Regions from separate parts of the Homo sapiens genome. Here all the other regions are linked to region 3. Evidence: promoter capture Hi-C in human tissues and cell types (Jung and others, 2019). All regions are on one chromosome and are shown on one strand. Each heading gives the region's core, a stretch centred on a gene start or on the middle of the fragment in contact. The rest is flanking DNA. Distances are from core to core; before and after follow the strand shown. Region 1 overlaps LOC102723878 (a long non-coding RNA gene). Region 2 holds the start of ESRRA (estrogen related receptor alpha). Region 3 holds the start of NRXN2 (neurexin 2). Region 4 holds the start of FKBP2 (FKBP prolyl isomerase 2). Region 5 holds the start of FAU (FAU ubiquitin like and ribosomal protein S30 fusion). Region 6 holds the start of SNX15 (sorting nexin 15). Region 7 overlaps VPS51 (VPS51 subunit of GARP complex).

The links. Contacts are between HindIII fragments. The study calls those that stand out against the background at their distance.
Region 1: a contact is called between a fragment that was not itself captured here and the fragment with the promoter of NRXN2 in region 3, in 5 of the 25 tissues and cell types used here (dorsolateral prefrontal cortex, lymphoblastoid cells, mesendoderm cells and 2 more).
Region 2: a contact is called between the fragment with the promoter of ESRRA here and the fragment with the promoter of NRXN2 in region 3, in 1 of the 25 tissues and cell types used here (dorsolateral prefrontal cortex).
Region 4: the fragment with the promoter of FKBP2 here is called in contact with the fragment with the promoter of NRXN2 in region 3 in 1 of the 25 tissues and cell types used here (spleen).
Region 5: the fragment with the promoter of FAU here is called in contact with the fragment with the promoter of NRXN2 in region 3 in 1 of the 25 tissues and cell types used here (spleen).
Region 6: a contact is called between the fragment with the promoter of SNX15 here and the fragment with the promoter of NRXN2 in region 3, in 2 of the 25 tissues and cell types used here (adrenal gland and spleen).
Region 7: a fragment that was not itself captured here is called in contact with the fragment with the promoter of NRXN2 in region 3 in 3 of the 25 tissues and cell types used here (dorsolateral prefrontal cortex, hippocampus and spleen).

Annotation. Positions count from the first base shown.
Region 1 is chr11:64,326,228-64,328,927 of GRCh38, forward strand. LOC102723878 (a long non-coding RNA gene) reads right to left here. Exons shown (of 4, transcript NR_188518.1): 3 at 1,257-1,309. Among named protein-coding and RNA genes, the nearest start is that of PRDX5, 9.5 kb to the left of the region's middle. The HindIII fragment of the contact is 7,757 bases long and covers 1-2,700 here.
Region 2 is chr11:64,304,149-64,306,988 of GRCh38, forward strand. ESRRA (estrogen related receptor alpha) reads left to right here and starts at 1,376. Exons shown (of 7, transcript NM_004451.5): 1 at 1,376-1,588. It overlaps CATSPERZ (catsper channel auxiliary subunit zeta), which reads left to right. Exons shown (of 5, transcript NM_001039496.2): 5 at 395-622. The coding sequence ends at 498. KCNK4-CATSPERZ (KCNK4-CATSPERZ readthrough (NMD candidate)) reads left to right here. Exons shown (of 11, transcript NR_133662.1): 11 at 395-621. RefSeq lists a silencer at 1,083-1,592 and an enhancer at 2,003-2,072. The HindIII fragment of the contact is 12,153 bases long and covers 1-2,840 here.
Region 3 is chr11:64,721,549-64,724,524 of GRCh38, forward strand. It overlaps NRXN2 (neurexin 2), which reads right to left and starts at 1,649. Exons shown (of 23, transcript NM_015080.4): 1 at 1,423-1,649. RefSeq lists silencers at 1,529-1,823, 1,810-2,109 and an enhancer at 2,490-2,539. The HindIII fragment of the contact is 11,757 bases long and covers 1-2,976 here.
Region 4 is chr11:64,239,782-64,242,609 of GRCh38, forward strand. It overlaps FKBP2 (FKBP prolyl isomerase 2), which reads left to right and starts at 1,314. Exons shown (of 6, transcript NM_004470.4): 1 at 1,314-1,351; 2 at 2,603-2,777. The coding sequence starts at 2,607. It overlaps LOC114841035, which reads left to right and starts at 1,314. Exons shown (of 6, transcript NM_001370414.1): 1 at 1,314-2,432; 2 at 2,603-2,777. The coding sequence starts at 1,499. The coding sequence ends at 2,296. RefSeq lists enhancers at 321-1,223, 723-782, 823-942, 1,224-2,124 and silencers at 1,223-2,242, 2,273-2,512. The HindIII fragment of the contact is 16,951 bases long and covers 528-2,828 here.
Region 5 is chr11:65,120,664-65,123,666 of GRCh38, forward strand. It overlaps FAU (FAU ubiquitin like and ribosomal protein S30 fusion), which reads right to left and starts at 1,471. Exons shown (of 5, transcript NM_001997.5): 1 at 1,427-1,471; 2 at 1,076-1,158; 3 at 837-981; 4 at 318-373; 5 at 1-143. The coding sequence starts at 1,150. The coding sequence ends at 18. It overlaps MRPL49 (mitochondrial ribosomal protein L49), which reads left to right and starts at 1,658. Exons shown (of 4, transcript NM_004927.4): 1 at 1,658-1,761. The coding sequence starts at 1,684. RefSeq lists enhancers at 1,429-1,518, 1,679-1,948. The HindIII fragment of the contact is 8,684 bases long and covers 1,043-3,003 here.
Region 6 is chr11:65,026,033-65,028,811 of GRCh38, forward strand. It overlaps SNX15 (sorting nexin 15), which reads left to right and starts at 1,407. Exons shown (of 8, transcript NM_013306.5): 1 at 1,407-1,604. The coding sequence starts at 1,506. It overlaps ARL2-SNX15 (ARL2-SNX15 readthrough (NMD candidate)), which reads left to right. Exons shown (of 11, transcript NR_037650.2): 4 at 1,286-1,604. It also overlaps the pseudogene EEF1A1P18. RefSeq lists an enhancer at 1,225-1,519 and a silencer at 1,369-1,538. The HindIII fragment of the contact is 29,710 bases long and covers 1-2,779 here.
Region 7 is chr11:65,098,558-65,101,257 of GRCh38, forward strand. The region is part of intron 2 of VPS51 (VPS51 subunit of GARP complex); the gene reads left to right. Among named protein-coding and RNA genes, the nearest start is that of VPS51, 3.7 kb to the left of the region's middle. The HindIII fragment of the contact is 4,540 bases long and covers 1-2,700 here.

The sequences.
Region 1 (2,700 bases), core at 170-2,669, 400 kb before region 3:
CTAAAAATACAAAATTAGCCAGGCATGGTGGTGCCATGCCTGTAGTCCCAGCTACTTGGGAGGCTGAGACAGGAGAATTACTTGAACCTGGGAGGCAGAGGTTGCAGTGAGTCGAGATCACGCCATTGCACTCCAACCTGGGCAACAGAATGAGTCTCACCACAACCTCCGCTTCCCGGGTTCAAGCGATTCTTGTGCCTCAGCCTCCTGAGTAACTGGGACTACAGGCGCGTGCCACCATGCCCGGCTACTTTTTGTATTTTTTAGTAGAGATGGGGTTTCATTATGTTGGCCAGGCTGGTCTTGAACTCCTGGCCTCGTGATCTGCCCGCCTCAGCCTCACAAAGTGCTGGGATTATACGTGTGAGCCACCGCGCCTGGCCTATCGGGGGAGTTTTCAATAGGCCCTAAGGGAGTCAAGTCTGGGTTTCTGAGACAAAGAAAAGGTTGGAGGGGTCCTGGTGTTCCTGGCCTAGATCAGGCTTGGGCTGCAGCCATGAAGGTGCTGTGATCAGGGGCAGTGGAGGCTGCTGGCCCCAAAGGGACACACTCTACTGGGCGTGGTTGGGGTTTGGTGACACAGGCATTGAGAAGTGACAGCAGATAGTGCAAAGTGTGCATGGGTATAACTTCTGGAGAAGTTCAGGTAACATCTATGCGAAGGCACAGATTCTTGGTGTTAACGAGCATGCATATTGGCCTGCCATGTGATTATATTTGTATCATCAACTCGCACTCCTGGAGTTGGGAATCATGTCTTTTTACTTAACACAGGTAAGGAGCCCTGCTCAGGGTGGGAAACACAGATAATACTTAACACGTTTTGGGAAGGAGTAAAGAAGTGAAGGCCAGGCGTGGTAGCTCACGCCTGTAATCCCAGCACTTTGGGAGGCAGAGGTGAGCGGATCACCTGAGGTCCGGAGTTCGAGCCCAGCCTGACCAACATGGAGAAACCCCGTCTCTACTAAAAATACAAAATTAGCAGGGCGTGGTGGTGCATGCTTGTAATCCCAGCTACTCAGGAGGCTGAGGCAGGAGAATCGCTTGAACCTGGGAGGTGGAGATTGCAGTGAGCCGAGATTGTGCCATTGTCTGGGCAACAAGAGCAAAACTCCATCTCAAAACAAAACAACACAACAACAACAAAAAAACAAAGGCTTAGCTCACAGGTATGCACTAGAGAGGTTGAGCTAGTATGCTAGCTGTGTGATTATTCCTTCTGTCTTGCTGCTCTGCCATTTTAAACACGTCTTTACCTTATGATCCACTGTGGCTGCTTGAGTTCCAGCCATCACATTCATCGTCCAGCCTGCAGGAAGGAGGAAATGAAGAACAGAAGATAAAAGGCCCATGCCAGCTGTCTGTCAAGAAGCTTTTTCTGGAAGCTGTCATATATCCCTTCCACTTACATCTCACTGGACAGAACTTAGTCACATGGTCATACTAGCTGCAAAGGAAGCTGAGAAGTATCAACTTCATTCCAGGGTGCCATGTGTCTAAATTAAAAATTATGAGTTTTTTTAGTCAGGGAGAGAGAGAGAAAGGATATTGGGTGGACAGCAAGCAGTGTGGCCACACAGGGATCACCTCTGAGAAGAGGGACCTTTGAGGTTCCATGCTTCCCAGGAGATGCCCACTTCCCTGCCTTTCCTGTCAGCCATGGAAGGGCATGGTTAATACGAAGCTGGCCCAGATCCACGTGTGGTCCCCTCATCTCCCCAGTGACTTCTCTCCAAGCCTCTGTCCCCATTCCCTGCAACCTTGGTCACCAAAGTCACCCTGATTCCCAATTGTGGGTCCTCCAATCTCTTCCCTTTCAGCATCTACCAGACAATGTTCCCCGCTGGGATGCCCCTGCCCAGATCACTCTAACCTTCAGGGCCCCAAGTCAGTTTCACTGCTGAGGACAACAGCCCTCTTTCCTGGTTCCCTGTCCCTTTCCTGAATTAGTTTCTGCGGGAACTGAGCCACATGGTTCGGCTTCATCAAAGATAGATTTGCCAAATTGACATACAATTCACATATCATAAAATTCAGCCTGTAAAATTGTACAAAGGCTAGACATGGTGGCTCATGCCTGTAATCCCAGCACTTTGTGGGGGTGAAGGGGGATGCTTACTTGAGTCCAGGAGTTTGAGACCAGTCTGGGCAATATAATGAGACCTTGTCTCTTTTTTTTTTTTAAAGTGTACAAGTCGGTTGTTTTCAATATATTCACCGAGTTGTGCAACCATCACCACTAAGGCACAGGCGGATCTTTTTTTTTTTTTTTTTTGAGATGGAGTCTTGCTCTGGCACAATCTCGGCTCACTGCAAGCTCCGCGTCCCGGGTTCATGCCATTCTCCTGCCTCAGCCTCCTGAGTAGCTGGGACTACAGGCGCCCGCCACCATGCCCGGCTAATTTTTTGTATTTTTAGTAGAGACGGGGTTTCACCGTGTTAGCCAGGATGGTCTCGATCTCCTGACCTCGTGATCCGCCCGCCTTGGCCTCCCAAAGGCCTCCCGGCCTTTTTTTTTTTTTTTTTTTTTTGAGACAGGGTCTCCTTCTGTCACCCAGGCTGGAGTGCAGTGGCACGATCTCGGCTCACCACCAGCCTCTACCTCCTGGGTTCAAGTGATCTTCCTGCCTCAGTCTCCCTAGTAACTGGGACTACAGGCATGAACCACCATGCTCAGATAATTTTTGATTTTTTTTGGTA
Region 2 (2,840 bases), core at 126-2,625, 420 kb before region 3:
TCGACTGCCTCTGGTTGGGGAGTTGTGAGGAGCCTTTGGACAGTGGATTATGTGGGTGAACTTTTGCTGCTGTGGTAGGAAAGCCCAGCGGTGATAAAGGGCCAGCTGATGGCTTAGAGTGGGTGGCTGGTCCAGAAGGTGGGCAAACTGCTCGCTACCACCGCCCTAGTTCAGGCCTGCAACCTCTTCCCTAGCCTTGACCTCATCCATCCTCCACCTTAACACTCAGCACCCTTAGAGATGCAAAGTTCCCCAGGCTAACACAGACCTGAGTGCCCTGCGCTACTGCTACCTCGAATCATCTGCGGTTCCTCGAATCACACATGCGGCGCCCCCTGGTGGGGAGACCTTTCGGTTGCTCACTGCCCTGAGCCGAGCTCTGCCCTCCTCCTAGGCTACCAGTTAGGGATCGGCAGGGACCACTTCCTGACTAAGGAGCTGCAGCGATACATCGAAGGGCTCAAGAAGCGCCGGAGCAAGAGGCTGTACGTGAATTAAAAACGCCACCTTGGGCTCGAGCAGCGACCCGAACCAGCCCCGTGCCAGCCCGGTCCCCAGACCCAAGCCTGACCCCATCCGAGTGGAATTTGAGTCCTAAAGAAATAAAAGAGTCGATGCATGGTCCGTGAGTCAGTGCAGGACAGCCCGCGTGAGGCGGACGCACGTGGCCCCGCCCTTCCCCGTGACCTTCATTCGGTCACCGCAGTGACCTTCATTCGGTCACCGCAGTGACCTTGAGCTTTCTCCGTCCGGGCCCTATCGGCCCTACCTTCCGGGACTCGCAATCCAGGACTTATTGCATGTTTTAAGTCGGCTTCACCCACCCCGAGTTCCGCAGCTCTGTGGGGCTACTGGGTCTACGGTTCGAGTGCTCAGTTGGTGTCGCTTTGGGGGAAGGGGGTAGGGGGAACGGGGCAGCACCTCCCTCCTCGCGACGGCGCGCTAGGCTCCGCCCCTCAAGCATAGGTAGCAGGTCCAGCCTCTCCGCTCGTCCCGCCCTTGCGTTTTCATCTGTAAGTGGTCTCTTGGCTCCGCGACTGCAGCCTGCACCGCCTCGCCCACTCCTCTCGCGCGCAGCAAGCCCCGCCTCCTCCGTTACGAAAGAGCGCTTCTGGCCCCACTTGCTCTCGGCTCTATTGTCCCCGCCCTCCGCGTCTCCGGCCCCGCCCCTCCCAGGGGCCGCGTACGCATGTGCGCCGCAGTGGCTCGGCGGGCTGCGGGGCGGGACCTGCACGAAGGCCCGCCCACTGGCGCTGCCGGCTCCGCCCCGACTCGTCCGGGCGCGCAGGCGCCGCCCGCCCCGCTGGTCTGATTAGCATAGGACCCCGGGCCCCGCCCCCTGCTTTGCATGCGCACGGCCGGCCCCACCCCCGCTGTCAGCTGGAGGAAGCGGAGTAGGAAGCGGCCGCGATGTCCTTTTGTGTCCTACAAGCAGCCGGCGGCGCCGCCGAGTGAGGGGACGCGGCGCGGTGGGGCGGCGCGGCCCGAGGAGGCGGCGGAGGAGGGGCCGCCCGCGGCCCCCGGCTCACTCCGGCACTCCGGGCCGCTCGGCCCCCATGCCTGCCCGACCGCGCTGCCGGAGCCCCAGGTCCGGGGGCGGAGGGGAGCGCTGCCGCGGGGGTGGGCGGGCGGGGCGCGGGGGCCATGTGCGAGCGCGGCAGGGAGGCGGGCGGGGCGGGCTGCAGGCGGGGTCCGACTCTGGGGCCAGTCCGGGCCACGGTTGGGACCCAGTCGAGGGTCGGACTGGTCAGGGTTCAGGCGGGATCCGGCGTCCGAGTCCTGGTGGGCCGGCCTGGGGCAGGATCTGGCTCTGGCTGCGGGTCCTGACTCGGGTCAGGGTTGGGCCTCCGATCCAGCCCGCTCCGGGGCAGGGTTCAATCCCGCATTTGCCGAAGTCCCTGGGGCTGGCCGGGGTGGAAGACGGGGAGGGCTCTATGTCTGGGAAGGGGCTCTGAAGACCACGTGGGGGCGCTCGAAGGGGCCTGGGGCCACCCTCCTCTCTGGGTCAAAGGTCATCGCACCGGCAGGGGAGAACTTCCTCCTCCTTGGCTCTCCCCACTTACTTCCTGATAACCTGGTAGAGGTCTCCCGCGGGCGGGGAGGGGGAGGCGTAGCAACTTTAGGCAACTTCCCAAAGGTGTGCGCAGGTTGGGGGCGGGACGCGGCGCCCCGGGAGGTGGCGGCCTCTGCGACAGCGGGAGTATAAGAGTGGACCTGCAGGCTGGTCGCGAGGAGGTGGAGCGGCGCCCGCCGTGTGCCTGGGACCGGCATGCTGGGGCAGGAGGGCAGCCGCGTGTCAGGTGTGAAAAGCTCTGGAGGTGTTTTCATGAGTCCGTGCCTGTGCGTGTGGATGTGGGGAGACCTAGTGAGAGTGTGTGTGATCATGAGCCTTGACTGAGTTCGTGGATGGGGTGTGCGCTCCAGGAGAAGTGTGTGAGCACAAGTGTGAGCAGGAGTGAGCACGGGTTTGGGAAGGCCGGTGCAAGTGTGAAAGCCCTCAGCAGAGAGCGAGCCTGCGTGGGCTTGTGGGGCTCCTGAGCACCCCGGTGAGTGGAGTGTGTGAACTCGGTGTGAGCACGTCCACTGGCCTTGGGTCTGCTCTCCAATGCAGAATACCCAGATGAGGGCAGGGTCTCAGAGGTCCCCCCAACATCTGGAGAAAACTGGGAAGTATCCTGCTCCTGGCTAGGGATTCCAGGTGGGGTTGAAGGTTGCCTGGGGGCTACGGTTACCCTGCTCCCTGGCCTGGGTGGGAGTAGGGGCTTTCTAAGCCTCCCCCAGGTTCCCAAGGGGGAGACCTGCTGTCAGTTACTGGCCCTGAAGACTCTGTTTCCATGGCA
Region 3 (2,976 bases), core at 399-2,898:
CAAGAGGAGGTAGGGACTGAGGGGCTGAAGCACCCACAAAACAGAAGGCCTCACAGTTAGCAGACTGCAGACCTCCCTCCCCTTCTCCTTCCCTCTCCCTTCTTTCTTTCTCCTTCTCTGGCAGAAGACAGAGAAAGTAAGACCCTAATGTCCACCCTCCTCCAAAAGGAACACCCAGACACTGGGAAGGTAGACAACAGGGAAGGATAAGAATGAATGGAAGAGGAGAGACGCCCACCCGCCAACACATGAAAAAACAGGGCTATCTGGAAGCCCCCAGGGCAGCCAAGGGACTGGGGACCCAAGACCCACCCCCTAAAAATCTATTTCATTATTCCAGGTGGACAGCCTCCTCCTTCACCTCCAGACACCAAGAAAAAGCCCCTCCCAGCCCTTGCTAGCTCAATGAGGCATCGAATGCCCTCTCCCAAGATTCAGGAGGGGGGTGAGAGTAAAGGAGACAACAGCACCCCAAAGCCAATTGTGCCCCAAAAGCCCATCAAGGGTTCAAGGGCTCATACCCCAACCCAAAGACCCCAGGGAAGATTGCTGCTTCAGCTGGGGGAGGAGGCTGGGACATGAGAAATGGTCCCTTCCTCTTTAGGGGTGGGGGAGCAAGCCAAGGGCCCTGCAGCTTCCTCTCCCCCTGCAGCACTCTCTGACCAGAACCCTGTCACCGCCCCCAGCGCATTCCCACCCCAGCAAAGCCCCCTCCTACTGATTTCCCAGTCTCCCTGTCTCATCACCCCCAGCCTTCCCCCGCAAGCTTCCGCTCCTCTCCCTCAGACCCCATCTTTCCCAGCTCTCCACCAGCACAGACCCATCTCTGCCTGGAGCACCTTGGCACATTCCCCTCTGCTCTCTCCCAATAACCTCTTCTCCCCTTGGCTCCCATCCCCCAGGAAAGCCTGGTCCTCAGTGGGTCCCCTCAGGACGAAGCCCTTGGCCTGGCCCCTTTCCTTCCCTCTCCACTTCTCTCTCTTCTCCAGCCCCCTCTCCTCTCCTCCCACGAAGCCCAGTTTCTCGCTGGTTAGACCCTCCAGAACACAACAGCTCCTCTGGCCCGGCGCTGCTTCAAGCCTCTGGGGCTAGCACAGACTGGGGACCCCCCTTTAAGAACCCCCTCTAAGTCCTCTGGATGCCCCTCCTCTCTCCATCCCTTCCCCCAAAGACCCTTCCTCCCACCCCTCCCCATTCTCCTCAGCTCTCAGGGCCAGTGCCCCTTCCACAGGAGCCTCCGACCCCCAAGCCCCCAGCGGCTTTGCCTCCTCGCTGTCACCGGGCCAGCCCTCTCAGCGCGGCGCCCCCGCCCCCCAATTCATCCGTCCTGCCTCCCTCGCCCCCTCCGATCCGCTCCCCTCCCCCGATCGGCTCCCGCCCCCCGCCCGTCTCCGCCGCAGCGCCCCCCCCCCCCCATTTTACCTGGTTCTCGGGGCGCCAGAAGCTGGAGGGTGGGTAGCAGAGCTACAGGGCCGCCCCGTCTCCGACGGGTGGCAGAGCCAGGGCTAGCGGTGTCTGCCGCCTCGCGCCTCTCTCCCTCCCCGCCGCGTCCCCGCCCGCCCGCCCGCCCCGCCGCGGTGCCTCTCCGAGGAGGATGCTCCGCGAGTCAGGGCGGCTGCTCCCGCCGCCGCATCCCTGCAACACCGACTGACGGCAGCATCAGCACCAGTGCCCGCCCCCGAGACGCGCGCATTGGACCACGCTGCGCTGACGGGCGAGCAGCGCAGCCAATGCAAGGGCTCAGAAGCCGCCAGTCCAGCGGCTCCACAGGCCCACTCCCTCCCTCGCGCGGGACCCAGGCGTCCCGGCCCCAGCACCCGCGCTCCTCCCAGCCTCTCGAGGTTCTCGGGCGCCCGGGCCCCCAACCAGGCGGGCCCCAAACCCGGCCTCAGTGTCTTTTCCGGGAACCCAAGCACTCTCGCCCCTCGCCCCTCGCCCCTTAGTTCGGGGCCTTGGGTCCCGCACCCTCCCCCCACGGCCAGCAGGTCTTCGCGCAGCGCGGGGCTGGGACAAGCCGAAGGAGAGGCTGTGGACCCCGACTTGGGACGCCGCGAGAGCAGGGCTGATGCGGGGCCTGGGCCGCAGCGCCCTCTGCTGGCTACCCCCAGGGGCGGGCCCGGGCTTCGAGGAGCCTAGAGAAGGGGGACTCGGTGGGTCCATGGCTGCTGGGGGCTTTTTCCAGTCGGTAGCCTGGCCCCCACCTCCCACCGTCCGGAGGGCCCCTGGCTTGGAGCCCCCAGAACTGAAGAGGAAGGGGCTTTGCTGGGATAAAGACGGAGGCGGTGGGGGAAGGAAAGGCAGAGATGGGGGCGGGGTAGACCTAGGAACTTGGGGGTTTCCCAGTCCTGCCTCATGGGAATCCCAGAGTTTGAGGCCAAACTCTCAGTTCTGCCTGGAACCCTGGACCGAGGTACGAGTAGGTGTGGGGGCAGGGTTGCGCCTGCACATGCCTGGTGACTGAGGGCACCTGGCAGCAGCCCCCTTCTCTGTTCTCCTCCTCCCATCCATGAGTTTCAGTTAGAGTGGTGCTGGGGGGCGCAGGTCTCTCCTGTAAGGGTACATGCATCACTGTGCATGTGTATGAGTGTGGGGGACTGGGGGACACCCTTCACTCACTCCGCCAATAAAAGTGTACACACACTGGCACTTAGTGTGTATACCCCGAGGTTGGTCACTGGGCTGCTGAATGAGACAGTGAGAGACAGAGTGTGTGTGTGTATGTGTGCCAGACCATTCTGCCAGCTCACTCCAGGACCCTGGTTTCTGTTGCAGGGTCTGTGATCTGCACAGCTGGTGGTAGTTGGCACTTCCTTAGCCAGAGGCAACATGCAAGAACACTTACATTCAACCACCAATGCATGGACATTGGGGCACTCACAGCCATGCACACATATCTGTGAACACTGGGCATTCCCAGAGACACATAAGAACACCTGCAGAAATGCCCCACCATGGTAACACACCCACAGGAAGCAT
Region 4 (2,828 bases), core at 64-2,563, 480 kb before region 3:
CTTCATCATCAGTTGCTGCCTGAGATTCTCCTGACTTGTCTATCCTAGCCCAAGCCCAGCCCCTACCCTTCTCCCTGCAGCCTCCAGTGCCCAGGGCTGAGTGGTTTGGGGTGGATGAAAGGCCAACCTTGGGCACCACTGCTTTGCCTGCTGAAGCAGGACATTCAGGGGCAGAGTTAACTCAATTGGGCAGCCACTGGGAGGGGCAGCCACCCTAATGGAGGCTTTCTCTGAGGTGTTGGGTCAGAGCATGTGGGTATGATCTTAGTGGGCCTAAGGCAGGAGTGGGTTGAACCAGGAGACAATTCCTGACAGCGATTACTACTTTCAAATCATTTTCTCAGTCATGATGTCACTGGACATGCCATAGGTCAATTAGCATGAGGCAGAAAGGGGTTAGGGCCCCAGAGCTACCGCCTCCAGAGCCCAGTTAGCCCCACCAGTCACGCACAATGCTTCACATGCACCTCCTCACTTTCTCCTCGCTCGATTCTGAGGTCAGCATCATGATTGTCTTCCTTTTACAATTGAGGAAATAGGCTCAGAAAGGCTAACTGGCCGGGGGGATTTGACCTCAACTCAGCTGTCTCCCTAACCTTCAACCTAGGTTTAGCTGCCTCTCAACTGCAGGTTCATTACTTCAGTTGACAGATGTTTGGTGGCTGCTGGGGCGCCTGAAAATAAGTCTGGTGGGGGAACAGGCCCAGCCAGATCATTCCAGTCATGAGTCACAGCCCAGGTGCACAGGTAGAGGTAAGCCTGGCTCCTGGGAGAGAGATGTGGGCAGGAGCATTGGCTGGAAGCCAGGGCTTGTCATTGGACATCATCTCGGTCCTGCAGGGGCCCTGTGGGGTGGGTGTCATCAAGCCCGTGTTACACGCCTGTATTGGATGACAAATTCTACCAAGCACACAGCCGACCGGGAGTTCAAACGTGAGTGTCACTGTGAAGCCCAGGCTCCACAGCGACTGAGGGCCGTGGGCCATGATGAGGCCCGGGAAAACAGGAGTGCTGTGGGAGAGGCTGGGGGCGACTTGAAATGGCGCCTCAAGACCCCCTCCGGGAACCCACGCCCGCCTGACCTTACTATCACCTCGGCCGGAAGTGTCTCCGGCCTTTTCGGAAGTCACTTTCACCTAACCTTACAGACTACCGCTCCGCCGGAAGTGACGCAGGGCAGCGGCGTCGCGGGGGCGGGGCTCGGGAAAGACCCGTGCCAGCGGGCGTGTGGCCGCGGGTTTCGCACGGTCCAATAAGGGAGGGCGGCGTGGCCCGGCCTGGTAGCGACGAGGACGCGCCTGCGCAGAGGCGGCAGCACCACCGGGGTTGACTCCGGGGGCGCGGCGAGGAGGTGAGCGGGGGCCACAGCCCGGGCTGGGGGGAGCCGGGGTGCAAGAGGGCAGGCTGGATCAGGCCGGGCAGAAGCGGACCGGGCTCCGAGTGTCAACGAGAGCTAGGTGACGAGGAAATTGGGGGTGGGGGCCGGAGCTGTCCGGAGATGCCGCAGGGGGAGGGTTCTCACGCCGCACGGGGCGGAGTCCTGGGACTCGGGGCGGGACGTGGAACCGGGACGGGTGGGACCTCCGAGCTGGTGCCAGTGGAAGGCGGAGCCCGGCGGCGGGGGGCGGAGCTAGGAGGGTCGGGGGACGGAGCCTGGCTCTTGAAGGAGGAGCTGGAGGAGGTGAAAGGCGGAGCCTCGGGGTCGGAAGCAGAGGGGGACGGAGCGGAGGCGCTGGGGGCGGGGCTTCAGCCGGTGAGTGGCGTGGCTACGGCTCCGGAAAAGGGGTCTAGTTCTGTCGAAGGCGGGGCTGCAGGCCCGGGGGCGGTACCGCGTCCTCCGAAGGGCGGTGCCAAGGAGCCAAGTGAGGAGCCTGGCCCGAGTAATGGCCCCGGGCGTCCTCGCGGGGGTGGTCTCCGTGGTGGCCGGGCTTGGGGACGCCGTAGGCCGAGAACTCCACCGGGAGAGGTGGTGTGGGTGGAGCGGGCTCGGCGGCCAGCAGACACAGGGCCAGTCTGGGTGCCCCGGAGACCCCCAAGGGCTCAGAGTTGGGGCGGCGCCCCGGGCGGAAGCACAGGGCCAGGCTGGGGGGTATCTCCCGAGGACCCGGGCTCCTCGGAGCCACCCAGTGGGGATGTGTGGGTGCCTCGGGGCCGGCCCCCTGCAGCGGCCGCAGAGGTGTTGGTGTGCTGGACCGGGGGCAGCTGGGTGTGGCGTGAGTGGGGCCGCCCAGTCGGGGCAACTGCAGTGCAGCCAGATAGGGTCTGGACTTTGCGTAAAGGGACAGGCGGGAACTGAAGAGCGGAGGTGGGGACTGGGAGGGAGGGAAGGTATGGGGGTGAGCAAAGGGGCGGGTCCCTGGCTGCTGTGGCCTCCCCTGACCCCCTCCCCCCGCTGCTGGGGTCCTCGGCCAAGCCCCCTTCTCACTGGACTGGTAAGTGTGGCCCCGGAGCCCGGGGGAGAGGGCGGTGACCCGGGACAAAGGGGATCCCCCGGGGCAAGGAAGATACAGTGGCGGTGGAACCCTCCTGTTACCTACCCGTGTTCCATACTCTCCCTGCCCTCCCCCACGTTCAGTCGGTCGGTCGGGGTCTGTGCCCACAGAGACATGAGGCTGAGCTGGTTCCGGGTCCTGACAGTACTGTCCATCTGCCTGAGCGCCGTGGCCACGGCCACGGGGGCCGAGGGCAAAAGGAAGCTGCAGATCGGGGTCAAGAAGCGGGTGGACCACTGTCCCATCAAATCGCGCAAAGGGGATGTCCTGCACATGCACTACACGGTGAGTGGGTTGGGCGGGCCTTTTGGGAGTGGGTGGGGCTTCCGAGGACCA
Region 5 (3,003 bases), core at 221-2,720, 400 kb after region 3:
CCAGAATTACAAAAGACTTAAGAGTTGGCATTGGGGCCCTTCTTCTTGCCAAAGGTGGGCACAACGTTGACAAAGCGCCGGTTGTACTGCATCCGCCGCTTAGCCCGACCTGTCTTCTTCTTCTTCTTCTCCTGTTTGGCCACCTGGAGAAGGGAAGGTTAATCAGGCCCTGGTTCCTGTCTTCCACACCTAGCATCCCTTCCCTCAGGCTCATCTCCAGGGAGGGAGAAGGCAAACCGAGTAAGAGCCCAGGGACTTGGTTTAGCTGTGAAAGGAAAAAAAGTCCTAACACCATGACCACTAATACTCTCACTCACCTTAGGAGTCTGACCTCTCACTTTTCCAGCACGGGCCAGGGAACCATGGACTTTACCTGTAGTGGGAAAGGAAGGCACCAGCAGGTAAGAGCAAGAAGGTGCCACCCAGCAGAACCCCTCTTTTCTCAATTCAAGCCTTTAAAGAGAAGCTGCGCCCAATAGGTAATGAGAACAAAGTTGCAGATATTTGACCTTGAAATCTTAAGTTTCATTTCAGGATCTTCCAGCTTCTAATTTTATAGAGCACTTTGGGGGCCCTGGTCTGACCTAATTTTAGTGTGGAAGCTGATAACCAGACTAGGATCTCGTGATGTGACTGAAATACAACTACACTCTGGCTCAGTCTCCCATGGACGTCTGTGTTCAACATGAGGGATGTAAACAGGAAGAATCACTCTGAACTGAAGACAGTGAGAAGTACTCTATTACCATAGGTGTGACACTCAGCTGTCAGGACTATGCACCCCACACTCACTAGACGCTTACCGGTACTTCAAAGAACATTCCTCTCTCACTCACCTCCAAGCATGCGGCCTGCTACTTCCAGGGTAGTCAGGGCCTCCACCCCGCACTGGCCCAGAGTGGCCTCATCCTCCAGGGGCGCGCCTGCCAGGAGCACGACTTGATCTTCCGGGGCAATGCCCTCCAGTGAGGCTACATGAGCCTACAGGGAAAGATAAGGCTCGTAAGCGTTCCCTCGGGCCGCGAGAGTGAAGAGCACAAGAAAATGGAACCCAGGGCGCACCAAGCAGCCTTACCTTGATCTGGGCGACCGTTTCCTGGCCGGTCACCTCGAAGGTGTGTAGCTCCTGGGCGCGGACAAAGAGCTGCATATTGGCGACTGAGTAAAGAAAAGACGGCTTGTAAGAGAAGCCAAGAAATGCTCTGGGATAAAGGAGATTTGGGAGTGGAAAGCGGTCCAGAAACGATCGCGACGGGATGGTGGTCGCGGCGGCTCACGTGGGGAAGGCCAGGCCTCCCAAGGAGTTCGGATAGGGACTGGAGCAGGGCCACGGAGCAGGCCCCGTTCTTCGGTTCCCCCCGCGCCTTCTGACCCCGCAGCCAACCTGCTACAAGCCCTTCGGATCCAGCCAAGGCCCCATTCTTACCTGAACGGCGGTCCCAGCTACCGCGAAGATGGAGTCGAGAAAGAGGAAGAAGCGAGGGCGCGTCAGTACAGACCGTGGGCTGCGTGTCACGTCACTGCTGAGCGACCGCGCGGTTCCCTGCTATTTGTACCGCCCAAGGCAGTCCTAGCTCCGCCCCTTTACGCTCGCACCGGCGAACCTGCCTGGGCAGGCAGCTCGCGCAGGACGGGGCGGGACCAGACAGTTGCGCGCACAGAAGGCTGGCGTAGCAGGTAAAGATGGCAGCTACCATGTTCCGGGCTACGCTGCGGGGATGGAGAACCGGTGTCCAGCGGGGCTGCGGGCTACGGCTGTTGGTGAGAGCGCTGAGCGAGGAGCTGAGGGCATCGCGTGGGTGTGAGGCTCAGTGTTAATCATTGTTAACCCCGAAAACTAAGGCATTCCTACTTGGGGCCTTAGTTTTGCCGTTTTCGATCAGGAGAACTTGTCCCGAGTGTACATATAGAATCGAGAGGGAAAATGGTAGACTGGGGTGCTCTTTGGGAGCACTTAACACAGTGCCTGGCAGTGTCTATATAAGCCACAACGTTTCAGGTAAGGGGCGGGGTCCTAGCATATGAGTGTGCGTGGGGAATTATGATTGCCTTAATTCTTTTTTTTTTTTTTTTTGAGACGGAGTCTCGCTCTGTCGCCCAGGCTGGAGGGCAGTGGCGCGATCTCGGCCCACTGCAAGCTCCGCCTCCCAGATTCACGCCATCCTCCTGCCTCAGCCTCCCGAGTAGCTGGGACTACAGGCTCCCGCCACCATGCCCGGCTAATTTTTTGTATTTTTAGTAGAGACGGGGTTTCACCTTGTTAGCCAGGATGGACTGGATCTTCTGACCTCGTGATCCGCCCGCCTCGGCCTCCCAAAGTGCTGGGATTACAGGCATGAGCCGCCGAACCCGTCTGATTGCCTTAATTCTTAAGGCAATCATAAGATTAAACATCACTATATCCCGTCACAGATGTGATTAGGTTAGCAAGGCCAGCCAGGCAATCATGGAGGTACAAACAAGGCCACGCTGCCAATATAATAATATCTATTTCTAAAACCGAGACAGAAAGTTAAGCCTTAAGTTTCTAAAGGCTTGATTGACTTTTCAGAAGTGTACATATACTCTTTTGCATCCCACAGAAATCCTGAGAGGCAGACCATTCAGAGTACCTGAGCCTCCTTTCCATCCCATCTGTACCCTGCACCATGGAAAACCAAAGACTGGTGCTATCTTATGTCAACCTAAATAACAGACTCTAAAAGAAAAGGATATTTATTCGGGAATGGGTATAGACTATGTGCTTATCAGGGAGGTAAAAGAAGACAAAGGTTTTTAACAGAAAAATGGGCCAGGCACGGTGGCTCACGCCTGTAATCCCAGCACTTTGGGAGGCCAAGGCGCGTAGATCACCTGGAGTCAGGAGTTTGAGACAAGCCTGGCCAACATGGTGAAACCCGTCTCTAGAAAAAATACAAAAATTAGCCGGGTGTGATGGCGTGTGCCTGTAGTCCCAGCTACTTGGGAGGCTGAGGTAGGAGACTTGCTTGAACTTGGGAGGCG
Region 6 (2,779 bases), core at 157-2,656, 300 kb after region 3:
CCACCTCTGCCTCCCAAACTGCTGGGATTACAGGCGTGAGCCACCACGCCCGGCCCCCATCTCTCCTCTTTAGGGTGGCTCATTGGGATCCATTTTGTTAACACCAACAATTAGTTTCACACCCAGCGTGTAAGACAGAAGGGTGTGCTCACGCGTCTGCCCATTCTTGGAATTACCAGCTTCAAATTCATCAACACCAGCAGCAACAATCAGGACAGCACAATTAGCCTGAGGTCAGGTTTTTGATAAAGTCTCTGCATCCTGGGCCATTGAGGATGGTCACATAGTACTTGCTGGTCTCAATTGCCAGCAGGGAGGTATCAGTGGTGATACCACTCTCACGTTCAACTTTCAGCTTACCCAAGACCCAGGTATGCTTGAAGGAGCCCTTTCCCATCTCAGCAGCTTCCTCAAAATTGTCGATGGTTCTTTTGTGGATCCCACCACACTTGTAGATCAGATGGCCAGTAGTGCTGGACTTGCCCAAATCAGATGATGATGTTGAGCTGAGTCTTTTCCCTCCCCTGCTCCCTTTCTTTTGAGATGGAGTCTCACTCTGTTGCCCAGGCTGGAGTGCAGTGGTGTGATTGCAGCTCACTGCAGCCTCAACCTCCTGGGCTGAAGCCATCAGCCAGCTCAGCCCCTGGAGTAGCTGGAATTACAGGCGTGCGCCACCACGCCCAGCTAATTTTTGTATTTTTAGTAGAAACGGGGTTTCACCATGTTGGCCAGGCTGGTCTTGAACTCCTGACCTCAAGTGATCCACCTGCCTCCACTGCCCAAAATGCTGGGATTACAGGCGTGAACCACCGCGCCAAACCCCCATTTTGGCTTTGATTTAACGGTGGTTTTCACGACACCTGTGTTCTGGCAGCAAACCCATCGCAAAAAAGCTCCACTGCCCTACACAGATTCTATTATAAACATCTCCATTCTACAGATGAGAAACTGAGGCTGAGTAGTTAAGGGAAACTCCTACAGCTAGTAAGAGTCGTGACTCAGAGCCCATGACACCATCCTGCTTCTCCAACCTTCTTTGCTTCCTCTACTTTCCAGAAAACATGAATTAGGGAATCCTGTGGAGGGAGACAGGGAAATAATTTGACGTTGTCCTGTACATACTGGACACAATAAGAGTTGGGTGGATGAACGAAAGCAGGGATTTAGGAAGCGGGGAGAAGTCGTTTGGAAGTCTGTGACAAGGGTTTACGCTTGGATAGGGTGGGCTTGATCACCCGGCAGAAATGAGACGAGTGATCCCAGCCTTCCCAACCAATCTTTCCAGTGACCTGGGTTTACGCTTCACCACAGAGAAGGAACTTTTCAGACGCTCCCTTGGCCGCGCACCCGGGATCGGAACAGCGCTGTCACTTGCGACAAAATCCCTAGGCCAGAGGAAGAAGAGCGCAGGCCTGGCGAGGCGGCGGCGGGCGGAGGCTGGGCCGGAGGGGTGGGGACGGCGAGGAGGTGGAGGCCGGCGCTCCGCTCCGCTCCAGCTCGGTTTCATGTCCCGCCAGGCGAAGGATGACTTCCTGCGGCACTACACAGTGTCGGACCCCAGGACTCACCCCAAGGGCTACACCGAGTACAAAGTAACCGCGCAGGTGAGGTGGGGCCCAGCGCGTACTTTACCCTTTTAACTAGAGGGGCGCCGAGTTTTACCTTAAGGAAAGGCGGTGCAGCCACTGCTCCCTTTTTAGACGACAGAAATGGGTTTCCCCTTTAAGGGGAGGTTGCAGTACGAGGCTTAGTTTACATCTTTAACCACCAGGGGGCGGGGTCCTGGGTGGGCGCTGTCTTTTTTAAAAGGGCGTTGACGGCCGTTCCCGGACAGGCAAGGCGTGTATGCCCACGCCCGGAGTGTAGTGTCTGGGCATCAGGCTGTGAATTTCTCTAAATTAACATGAAAACTCTGGTTTAATCCAAATATTAGTACTCCATTCTCGTAGAGTAAGTTTTGTTTATTGGTTTGTTTGATGTTACATAAACTCCCTTTAACGAGTTTAACCATTTTTAATTTTTCAAAAAATAATACTGATCAGTGGTTGAAAAAAATTGATGCAGTTCAGAAGGACTTAAGGAGTAAGTCGCCATATCAAGGTCACAGCAGGAAGATAGATAGGCTAGAGTTGATATATGAAGCGATAACAACATCATAAGCACAATTTATAGAGAGACATGGAGGAAACCATGACAATAATTAAAAATGAAACAGTAAAACAGGACACCTGTAGAATGATAACAAGAACTGGTAACAAGGAAGGTCCCCAGGGAGAGGAACTGTGTCACTGGGGACAGGAGTTAGGGGAAGACTTTTTACTGTAAATTTTTTGTACTTTTAGAATTTTCAACCAGGCGACTATTAAGCTGGTGCATTAGTTAACTCTAAAAGCAAAGCAGGCACATAAGGACACTTCCAAAGTGATCTAAGTGCAGAATCTTAGCTATTTAAAATATGCTTTCCCCAAACCGTTTACGTCTTTTCCATGCCTAAAAATAATGCAAATAAGGCCGGGCTCAGTGGCTCATGCCTGTAAATCCCAGCACTTTGGGAGGCTGAGGCAGCAGATTGCTTGAGCTCAGGAGCTCAAGACGAGCCTGGGCAACATAGTGAGACCCCGGATCAATATTAAAATACAGACACACACACAACTTTAAAAAAAAAAAAAAAAAAAGCAAATAAATAGATTGTCCCTGGGAAGATAGACTGGAGGTGGGGCTGGGGTGGGGAGGATGTGGCAAGGAACTGTAACCTTTTATTATAAGTCTTCCCAGTGGT
Region 7 (2,700 bases), core at 93-2,592, 380 kb after region 3:
TGGAATGTTCTGGGAGCATCTGTGGGGTTGCATTCTGATGTCTTACTCTCGTGTCACAGTGGTGGGTGTGGTAACCTATACACATTGTTCTTTTATCTGATTTGAAGCAGATTCCATGAGTAGGCACCTTTCTGTTAGCTAATACCAGCATCAAAATGGCAAGAAATCATAGTTTCTGTGCTGGGATATTTCTCACAGGAATTTAATAAGATTACATTTTCCATTTGTTGGAATGTGTATAATAATATTTTGAGACTTAGCTCTTTTTGTACATCCCACAAAAGGAACAAACGTTTGGAAAAGTGTGAGGATAACCAGGAGCATTGATGTCTTAGAAGCTTAAGTGAGGGGCCGGGCATGGGGTTCTCACCCGTGATCCCAGCACTTTGGGAGGCTGAGGTGGGTGGATCACTTGAGGCTAGGAGTTCAAGACCAGCCTGGCCAACATGGTGAAACCCTGTCTCTACTAAAAATACAAAAATTAGCTGGGCAAGGTGGTGCATGCCTGTAGTCCAAGCTACTCATGAGGCTGAGGCAGGAGAATTGCTTGAACCCAGGAGGTGGAGGTTGCGTGAGGAAGGTGTTTCAAGACATAGATTTGATAGACTTGGGCGAGACACTCAGGAAAGTAATGTAGCATGGAGTGTGTGTTGATTGGGCAAGAGAGAGAGAAAAATGAGAAAGGAACTAGGTCCTCAGGAAGGAGGGGGGTGGAACAGAGCAGGGATGGAGGCATCGGCCTCAGCAAAGGGCCGGGAGCTCATCTATGGTAGCAGGAGGGGAAGCAGAATGTGGGCAGAGCCAGGCAGATAGTAGATGTGCAGTTTAACTAGAAACCTTCCAGAATGTATTAGGGATTTGGCTTTTATCCACAGAGAGCTAAAACAAATGAGTGATGTGCTCAGATTTCTGGTTTGAATAGATTCCTCCAGCTGCACTGGCAGGAATGGATGGGGCTGAGCACAGTGGCTCATGCCTGTAATCCCTGCACTTTGGAAGGCTGAGGTGGGAGGATCACTTGAGCCCAGGAGTTTGAGACCAGCCTGTGCAACATAGTGAGACCCGATATCTAGAAAAAAAAAAATAGCTGGGTATGGTGGCACACACTTGTTAGAATAAACCCAGCTACTTGGGGAGGCTAAGGTGGGTGGATCACATGAGCCCAGGAGCTGGAGATTGCAGTGAGCTATAATCTCACCATTGCACTCTAGCCTGGGTGACAGAGCAAGACCTAGTCTCAAAAAATAAATAAATAAATAAAAAGGCCAGGTGCGGTGGCTTATGCCTATAATCTTAGCACTCTGAGAGGCCGAGACGGGTGGATCATCTGAGGTCAGGCATTTGAGACCAGGCTGGCCAATATGGTGAAACCCCATCTCTACTAAAAATACAAAAATTAGTCAGGCATGGTGGCAGGCATCTGTAGTCCCAGCTACTCAGGAGGCTGAGGCAGGAGAATCGCTTGAACCCAGGAGGCGGAGGTTGCAGTGAGTCGAGATCGCGCCACTGCACTCCAGCCTGGGCAACAGAGCGAGACTCCGTCTCAAAAATAATAATAATAATAAATAATAATAAAAGGACAGCCCACAGAATGGGAGAAAATATTTGCAAGTTAGTTATCTAATAAAAATCTAGTGTTCAGAACATAAAAAGAACGTTTTTTAGCTCAGGGCTAAAAAGACAAATAACCCTAATTTAAAATGGGCAAAGGATTTGAATAGACACTTCTCCAGAGAAAACATACAAGTGGCCGAAAAGCACATATAAATATGCTCAGCATCATTAGGTCTTAGGGAAATGCAAATCCAAACCACAAAATGCTGCACCCAGTGTGGAAGACAGTTTGACCATTCTTCAAAACCACACACAAGATTACCATATGATCGGCAATTTTACTCCTAGGAATATACCAAAGAGAATTGAAAACATGTTCACATAAAAACATGTACACAAGTGTTCATAGCAGTGTTTTTTTTTTTTTTTTTTTTTTTGAGATGGAGTCTAGCTCTGTCACCCAGGCTAGAGTGCAGTGGTGCCATCTTGGCTCACTGTAACCTCCGCCTCCCCAGTTCAAGCGATTCTCCTGCCTCAGCCTCCTGAGTAGCTGGGATTATAGGTGTGCACCATCACACCCGCCTAATTTTTTTATTTTTATTTTTTGTATATTTACTAGAGACGGGATTCCACCTTGTTGGCCAGGCTGGTCTTGAACTCCTGACCTCAAGTGATCCGCTTGCCTCGGCTTCCCAAAGTACTGGGATTACAGGCAAGAGCCACCATGCCTGGCCAATAGCAGCACTTTTTATAATAGCCACAAGGTGGAAGCAATCCAAATGGCCATCAATTGAATGAATATAAACAAATATCCACACAGTGGAATATTATTCAGCCATAAAAATAGATATAACATACTGACACAGGCTACAACATAGATTAACCTTGGAAACATGCTAATGTTTCATATGCCTATGATTCCATTTCTGTTAAATGTATTCTGTAGCGAATAGACAAATCCATAGAGACAGAAACTAGATTAATGGTTGCCAAGTTCTAGGAGTGGGGGAATAAGGAATGACTGCCAAGGGTTACAGGGTTTCTTTAGGGGATGATGAAATGTTCTGGAATTACGTAGTGAGGTTGGTTGTACAACCTTGTGAATATATTAAACATATTAAAAACCACTGAATTGGTATGTCAATT